Linked DNA regions of Homo sapiens: region 1 is linked to region 2. The links are contacts of gene promoters, found by promoter capture Hi-C in blood cells and fetal thymus (Javierre and others, 2016). All regions are on one chromosome and are shown on one strand. Each heading gives the region's core, a stretch centred on a gene start or on the middle of the fragment in contact. The rest is flanking DNA. Distances are from core to core; before and after follow the strand shown. Region 1 overlaps AKAP8L (A-kinase anchoring protein 8 like). Region 2 holds the start of SYDE1 (synapse defective Rho GTPase activating protein 1).

Region 1 (3,360 bases), core at 337-2,836, 280 kb before region 2:
CATCAACCTTCCAAAGCTTTCAGCCATTGTTTCTTCAAGTATTTTGTTTTCCTACTCCTTTCTCTCTTTCCTCTTCTAATGCTCATTACCCGTATGTTGGATCACTTAATAGTGTGCCATGGTTGTCTGAGACTGTTCATTTTACCTCATTTTTTTCCCTCTGTTCTGCAGATTGTATAATCTCTTTTGATACACAAGTTCACTAATTCTTTTTTTTTTTTTTTCTTTTTTTTTTGTGATGGAGTCTCGCTCTGTTGCCTAGGCTGGAGTGCAGTGGCGCCATCTCTGCACACTGCAAGCTCCGCCTCCTGGGTTCATGCCATTCTCCTGCCTCAGCCTCCCAAGTAGCTGGGGACTATAGGCGCCCACCACCACGCCCGGCTAATTTTTTGTATTTTTTTTTTTTTTTAGTAGAGATGGGGTTTCACCGTGTTAGCCAAGATGGTCTCCATCTCTTGACCTTGTGATCCGCCTGCCTCGGCCTCCCTAAGTGCTGGGATTATAGGCGTGAGCCACCGAGCTCGGCCAAGTTCACTCTTTTTTAGAGATGGAGTCTAGCTCTGTCGCCCAGGCTGGAGTGCAGTGGCGCGATCTCGGCTCACTGCAAGCTCCGCCTCCCAGGTTCATGCCATTCTCCTGCCTCAGCCTCCGGAGTAGCTGGGACTACAGGCGCCCGCCACCACGCCCGGCTAATTTTTTTGTATTTTTAGTAGAGACGGGGTTTCACCATGTTAGCCAGGATGGTCTCGATCTCCTGACCTCATGATCTGCCCGCCTCGGCCTCCCAAAGTGCTGGGATTACAGGCGTGAGCCACCGCACCCGGCCCAAGTTCACTAATTCTTAAGTTCAAATCTGTTGAGTCCTTCAAATGGATTTTTGGTGTCCGTTATTGTACTTTTCAGCTCTAAGATTTACCATTTTATTATTATCATTTCTATCTCTGTGTTTAAATTGTTTCATGAGACAGTGTCATTATACCTTCTTCTACTTGAGTTTTCTTTAAACCTATTTACAATTGCTACTTTAAAATGTTTGTTGAATTTGACATCTGTTCACTGTCACAGGAAGTTTCTATTGTCTGCTTTTTCATCTGTGCCTGGGTCAGAGTTTCCTTTGGATGTCTCATAATTTTTCACTGTTAACTAGACATCTTAGATAATTTGTTGTGGCAACTCTGGGCACTGATCCCCCACCCACCCTCCCAGGGTCTTGTTACTGTATTTGCTTGTCTATTTGTTTAGTGACTTGCTAGATTTTTTTAGTTAGGTCTCTTTCATTCTCACACAGTATGAAACTGGTGGTGTGTCTTGGAGGGAGGAAGCCATGGGCTCGCTCTTTTTCCCAGACCATACTCAGCTGTTAAACTCTACCAATTGCTGGCTGATTGCTTTATTGTTTTCAACAATGTTTTGGGGCATAGATTGCTGCCCAATCTGATCCAATTAAATTTGGGCTCCTTTATAGGGATTTTTTTCCCCTCCCCTCCCCGCCCCCTCTCCCAGACAAGAGTCTTGCTCTGTTGCCCAGGCTGGAATGCAGTGGCGCGATCTTGGCTTGCTGCAACCTCCACCTCTCAGGTTCAAGCAATTCTCCTGCCTCAGCCTCCCGAGTAGCTGGGATTACAGGCATGTGCTACCACGCCCGGCTAATTTTTGTATTGTTAGTAGAGACGGGGTTTCACCATGTTGGCCAGGCTGGTCTCGAACTCTTGATCTTATGAGCCACCCACCTCAGCCTCACAAGGTGCTGGGATTACAGGCGTCAGCCACTATGCCAGGCCCAAGAGGGATGGTTTTTGAGGTGGTTGTTTGAGATTTATTCTGAACCCAGGGAGTCTGTTCTTAGCTATTTCACTGGTCCTTGTCCTCTTTGGTAACCTAGTTAGCCTATGGGTTAGCTAATATCACTGTCAAATCTACCGGTCCTTCTTTTTTATGGCTGTGTGGTGGGGGAAAAAAAAAAGGACAAAGCTATCAGTGTTTAACTCCAATAAATATTCAGAAAGAAAAAAAAAAGCTATCAATGTCCTTTTAATTTTTTTCCTCCCTAGTCTCCATTGTTTTTGAGAGAGGCCCTAGTCTTGCACTTCCCAACACTCTTGCCAGTGAAGTCAGTCAGTTCCTTTGAGATTGGGAGTTTACTGATTTAAGGCCGTGCTCTCACTGTGGGCAGAATCTCTGAGCCAAGGCTCTGGGGATGGAGACAATGGAGTACCTCTCTCTGAGTGACTCTGCCACTTTAGGAGAGACATGGGAGGAGGTACAGTAGGCTGTAGCCTCCGGTCTTGGTTTGCCTTTCCTGGCATGGGACCTCTGCTTTATGAACAAGCCATGGGTATGTGAGCCCTTATATTCTTAGTGTGCCATGCCCAGGGTCAAGCCTCCATTCCACGTGCGTGTGGCTGGGTAGAAGATAGGAACCGTTCTCTCTCAGCTATGCTTGTCTAGAACTTAGCCTCATCAGCAGGTAGCTGGGGGCGGGATGAGAGATACTGACATCCGGCTGGGTACAGTGGCTCACGCCTGTAATCCCAGCACTTTGGGAGGCCAAGGTGGGCAGATCACCTGAGGTCAGGAGTTCAAGACCAGCCTGGACAACATCGTGAAACCCCATCTTTACTAAAAATACAAAAATTAGCCGGGCTTGGTGGCGGGCACTTGTAATCCCAGCTACTCGGAAGGCTGAGGCAGGAGAATTGTTTGAACCCGGGAAGTAGAGGTTGCAGTGAGCCGATATCACGCCATTGCACTCCAGCCTGGGCAACCAAGAGTGAAACTCCAACTCAGAAAAATAGATGCTGACATTCTGTTCCTCCTGGGAAGATATCATACCCCTTAACTGAGATGATCTGGGTAGATGCGGGCAGACCTGTCTTCTTGGCTGTACTGTCTGGAGTGGAGTTTCCATCACACTAAGCTGGGGGAGGCAGGGATGCAATAGGTTGTGTTTCAGACATCACAACTCTTCATGGAACTGAGTTTTAGTAGCTTTTCCTCATTAAATCTTTCTCATAGGGCTGTATGTCCTTAGGAACATTTTCAGAGACTTTAAATGGTTGTTTTTTAATACTTTTCATCAGTTTCACTAGGGAGTGTTCCAGGGAACGCCTCAGACTGCTATGCTAGAGTCTGTCCTCTCAATATTTAGGAAGCTTCTTAAACCTTAATTCCAAAATTCTGATAAAGATGATACCAAAATGAAACTGTAGATTAGTTTACTATTATTAAAGATATGAAAGTGGGCTGGATTGGCCGGGCGCGGTGGCTCATGCCTGTAATCCCAGCACTTTGGGAGGCCGAGGCAGGCGGATCACGAGGTCAGGAGATCAAGACCATCCTGGCTAACACGGTGAAACCCCA
Region 2 (3,024 bases), core at 354-2,853:
GCAGCCCTGTGCAATTGATCAGTGGGTGGGATGCTGTGTACGGCCCTGGCCGGCCCCTGATAAGTCATGGTTCCTTGGATCCTGCTGTTTTGTTTGGAATAGGCAGCCACAGGCTAGCGATCTCAGTTATCAGCTTAGAGCACCCCCTACTCAGTCCCTGGCATCCCAAAAGGGGACTCCATCCCTGCAGCCTCAGGGTTCTAAGTCAGGCTTCCTGGGGCCCGTAGGTACTGCGTTCCAGTCTCCACTTCCTCTACCCTCTCAATAACCGTGGCATGGAGCTTTGCACCTGCGTGGCCTTGGGCAAGTCGCTTCCCTCTCTGAGGCTCAGTATCCTCCTGTGAAATGGGGGGATGTGATTTCCATGTCCAGGGAGGCTTCCAGGAGCCTTTTGGAAAAGTATACAGCCCACAGCAGGCACTACGTGCTCAGGAGTGAGGAGCTGGGTTTTCTATTCCCTGCAGCACAGTCACTCCCAGTCCCCTGCCCCTTTTACCCTCCCTCCTGTCTTCCAAACTCTGTCGCCATCCTGGGATGGGCCCTTGTCCCTCAGCCCAGGCCAGACCCCCCACGCTCAATGCTTTGGGACTTCCCCTTCCCTCCCTCCTCTCCTGTCTCATGTCCTGGGCTGTTTCCTGTGTGTGTTTGTGTTTGGGCATCTCTGTCCCTTCTCCCTTCCCTGGGAACATTGGGAATCTTTGGGAAGGCCTGGGGGGAAGGGGTACGTCCATGGAATGGTCTGGCCTTCCTCCTTTAACTCCTTCCTTCCTGGGTCCCCCTATCCCACGCAGCTGTTTCTCTAAGGTTTTTACTTGCTACCCTGCTGAACTCCTCCTCTGGCCACCTCTGATGTCCACCCTCTAGGGTCTCTGTTTGTAGCATAGTCCAAAGAGCTGTTTAAGTCGATGGCCCTGGGCACATGACCCAATTGCTCCGTGCCTCAGTTTCCCCATCTGTATAAAAGGGACAGTTTCCTGGGGCTAAGGCAGGCGCAGTTGCCGTCACTGTTAGTAGGTGGGAGGCGGAGGGGGCAGCTACTCTGATTGACGGGCCGCCCCTCTCTTTCCTTTGCAGGAGTACGCCTCCCATCTCCCATCCTGCGCCTCCAGGGCTCCCGATGCCCCTTGCCCAGCCCGACTGGGCCCCAGTGTCCCGGCCTCCCAGCCCCTCCTCCCCTCCACCCTCCAGGCCCTCAGTCGCGGCCCCATTTCCTGTCGTGGGCGAGGCCCCCTCCCGGGCCTCCCAAGGAGCCCGCAGCGCTGGCATCCCCGGCCAGCAGCACATAACGGTCCGCGCCCCCCTCCCTCCCAGCCCCTTCCTTCCAGGACCCCTACCCTCCCCTGGCTGGAGGCACCCCAGTCTGCAGCGGGGTGCGGGGGGCTCCCCCTGATCCCCCCCACCGTCTGTCCTCGGGGCCCTGGGACCCCGCTCCCAGGCCGGGTGGGGCTCGGCGCCCCCTGTTCCCCACCGATCTCCGCTTACCGCGCTCCTTGGCGTCCGACTTTTTCCGGGGAAGTTTCTCCCGGCCCCGCAGGCGGGAGAAGGTTTTCCTGAGTAGCGGCTCGGCCATGCTGCGGCCCGGGCCGGGCCGAGCCGAGTGCGCGCCCCGGGCTCCGGCCGCGCCGCCCCGCGCCCTCCCCGCCCCGCCCGGGCCTCCCCGCCCGCCCCCCGCCCCGCGCCAGCAGGAAGCACATTCCGGGAATGCTTGGCCCAAACTTTTTTTTTTTTTCCCCTTTCCCGCGGCCCGAGCGGGCGATGCTGGGAGATGTAGTTGCCTGGGGCCGGGAGGGGTTGGAATGGGGGCTCCGGGTGCCCGGATCCGCTCCAGCTTCGATGGGACGTGACGATCGTGGCGCAGGCCCGATCCCTTGTCTTCCACCTCACCCACCCTCCCTGGATGGGACTCTGGGTGATGGCATCCAGGAAGTTCTCTTGGGTCTGTCTCCAAATCGCAGCCTCCACGTATCCTCTCTCTCCTTGCCAGGTACTGCTTCAACCTGGTGCAAGCCGTAGTGTCATTCGTTTCAATGACCGTCCCCACTACCCACCCCACCCCAAGCTTCTTCCTTGGTCTCCCCATGCCACTCTTTCCCCACTCAATTCTCTCACCTCCAAATTCCAATTACTACTGCTGTTTGACAAACCATCCCCAAACGTAATGATGTAAAACAACCATGTCGTGATTGTGAAAGGAAAATAAATCTTGAGACCTCCAAATCACTGAGCCAAAAGGAAGAAGTCAAACTGGTAACTGTGTAGGACAAACCTGCCTCCCATTCTATTCCTAAGTAAGATAGCTACAAGGTTAAAAAAGCTAGCTGGGCGCGGTGGCTCACTCCTGTAATCCTAGCACTTTGGGAGGCTGAGGCGACGGATCACTTGAGGTCAGGAGTTCGAAACCAGGCTGGCCAACATGGTGAAACTCCATCTCTACTAAAAATATGAAAAAGAAAAAAAATTGGCCAGGCATGGTGGGTGGGCACTGGTAATCCCAGCTATTTGGGAGGCTGAGGCAGGAAAATTGCTTGAACACGGGAGGTGGAGGTTGCAGTGAATCAAAATTGCACCACTGCACTCTAGCCTGGTCATCAGAGCAAGATGCCGTCTAAAAAAAAAGAAGAAAAGAAAAGAAAAAAAAAGCTACATACCTCCCCCACAATTTGCCTACAAGGAAATTCCTTATGGATGAAGGACAGGCAGAACTCAAAATTGTCCCTCTGCTCACATGAGACAAACACATATCTGATCGCTTCCTTACCTATTTGTTTCACTAAGCCAGACTAAGGCATAAGTGACTATCTCTGTAAATTGCATATTCAGAAAGGCTAGTCAGAAACTCGAAAGAATGCAATTGTTTCTCTCTTATCCACCTATAACCTGGAAGCCTTCTCCCTACTTTTGAGTTGTCCTGCCTTCCCAGACCAAACCCATGTGCATCTTACATATATTGATTGCTGTCTCATGTCTCCCTAAAATATATAAAACTAGACCAAGGTGGAGTGCAGTGGTACCACCACAGCTCAC

What was found. The method cuts DNA at HindIII sites, captures the fragments that hold promoters and counts their contacts. A CHiCAGO score of 5 or more calls a contact.
Region 1: a fragment that was not itself captured here is called in contact with the fragment with the promoter of SYDE1 in region 2 in 1 of 17 cell types (endothelial precursors); the score reaches 5.8 in endothelial precursors.

Annotation. Positions count from the first base shown.
Region 1 is chr19:15,386,100-15,389,459 of GRCh38, reverse strand. All of the region lies in intron 12 of AKAP8L (A-kinase anchoring protein 8 like), which reads left to right. Among named protein-coding and RNA genes, the nearest start is that of AKAP8, 8.0 kb to the right of the region's middle. The HindIII fragment of the contact is 3,136 bases long and covers 19-3,154 here.
Region 2 is chr19:15,105,980-15,109,003 of GRCh38, reverse strand. It overlaps SYDE1 (synapse defective Rho GTPase activating protein 1), which reads right to left and starts at 1,603. Exons shown (of 8, transcript NM_033025.6): 1 at 1,483-1,603. The coding sequence starts at 1,570. The HindIII fragment of the contact is 2,464 bases long and covers 1-2,061 here.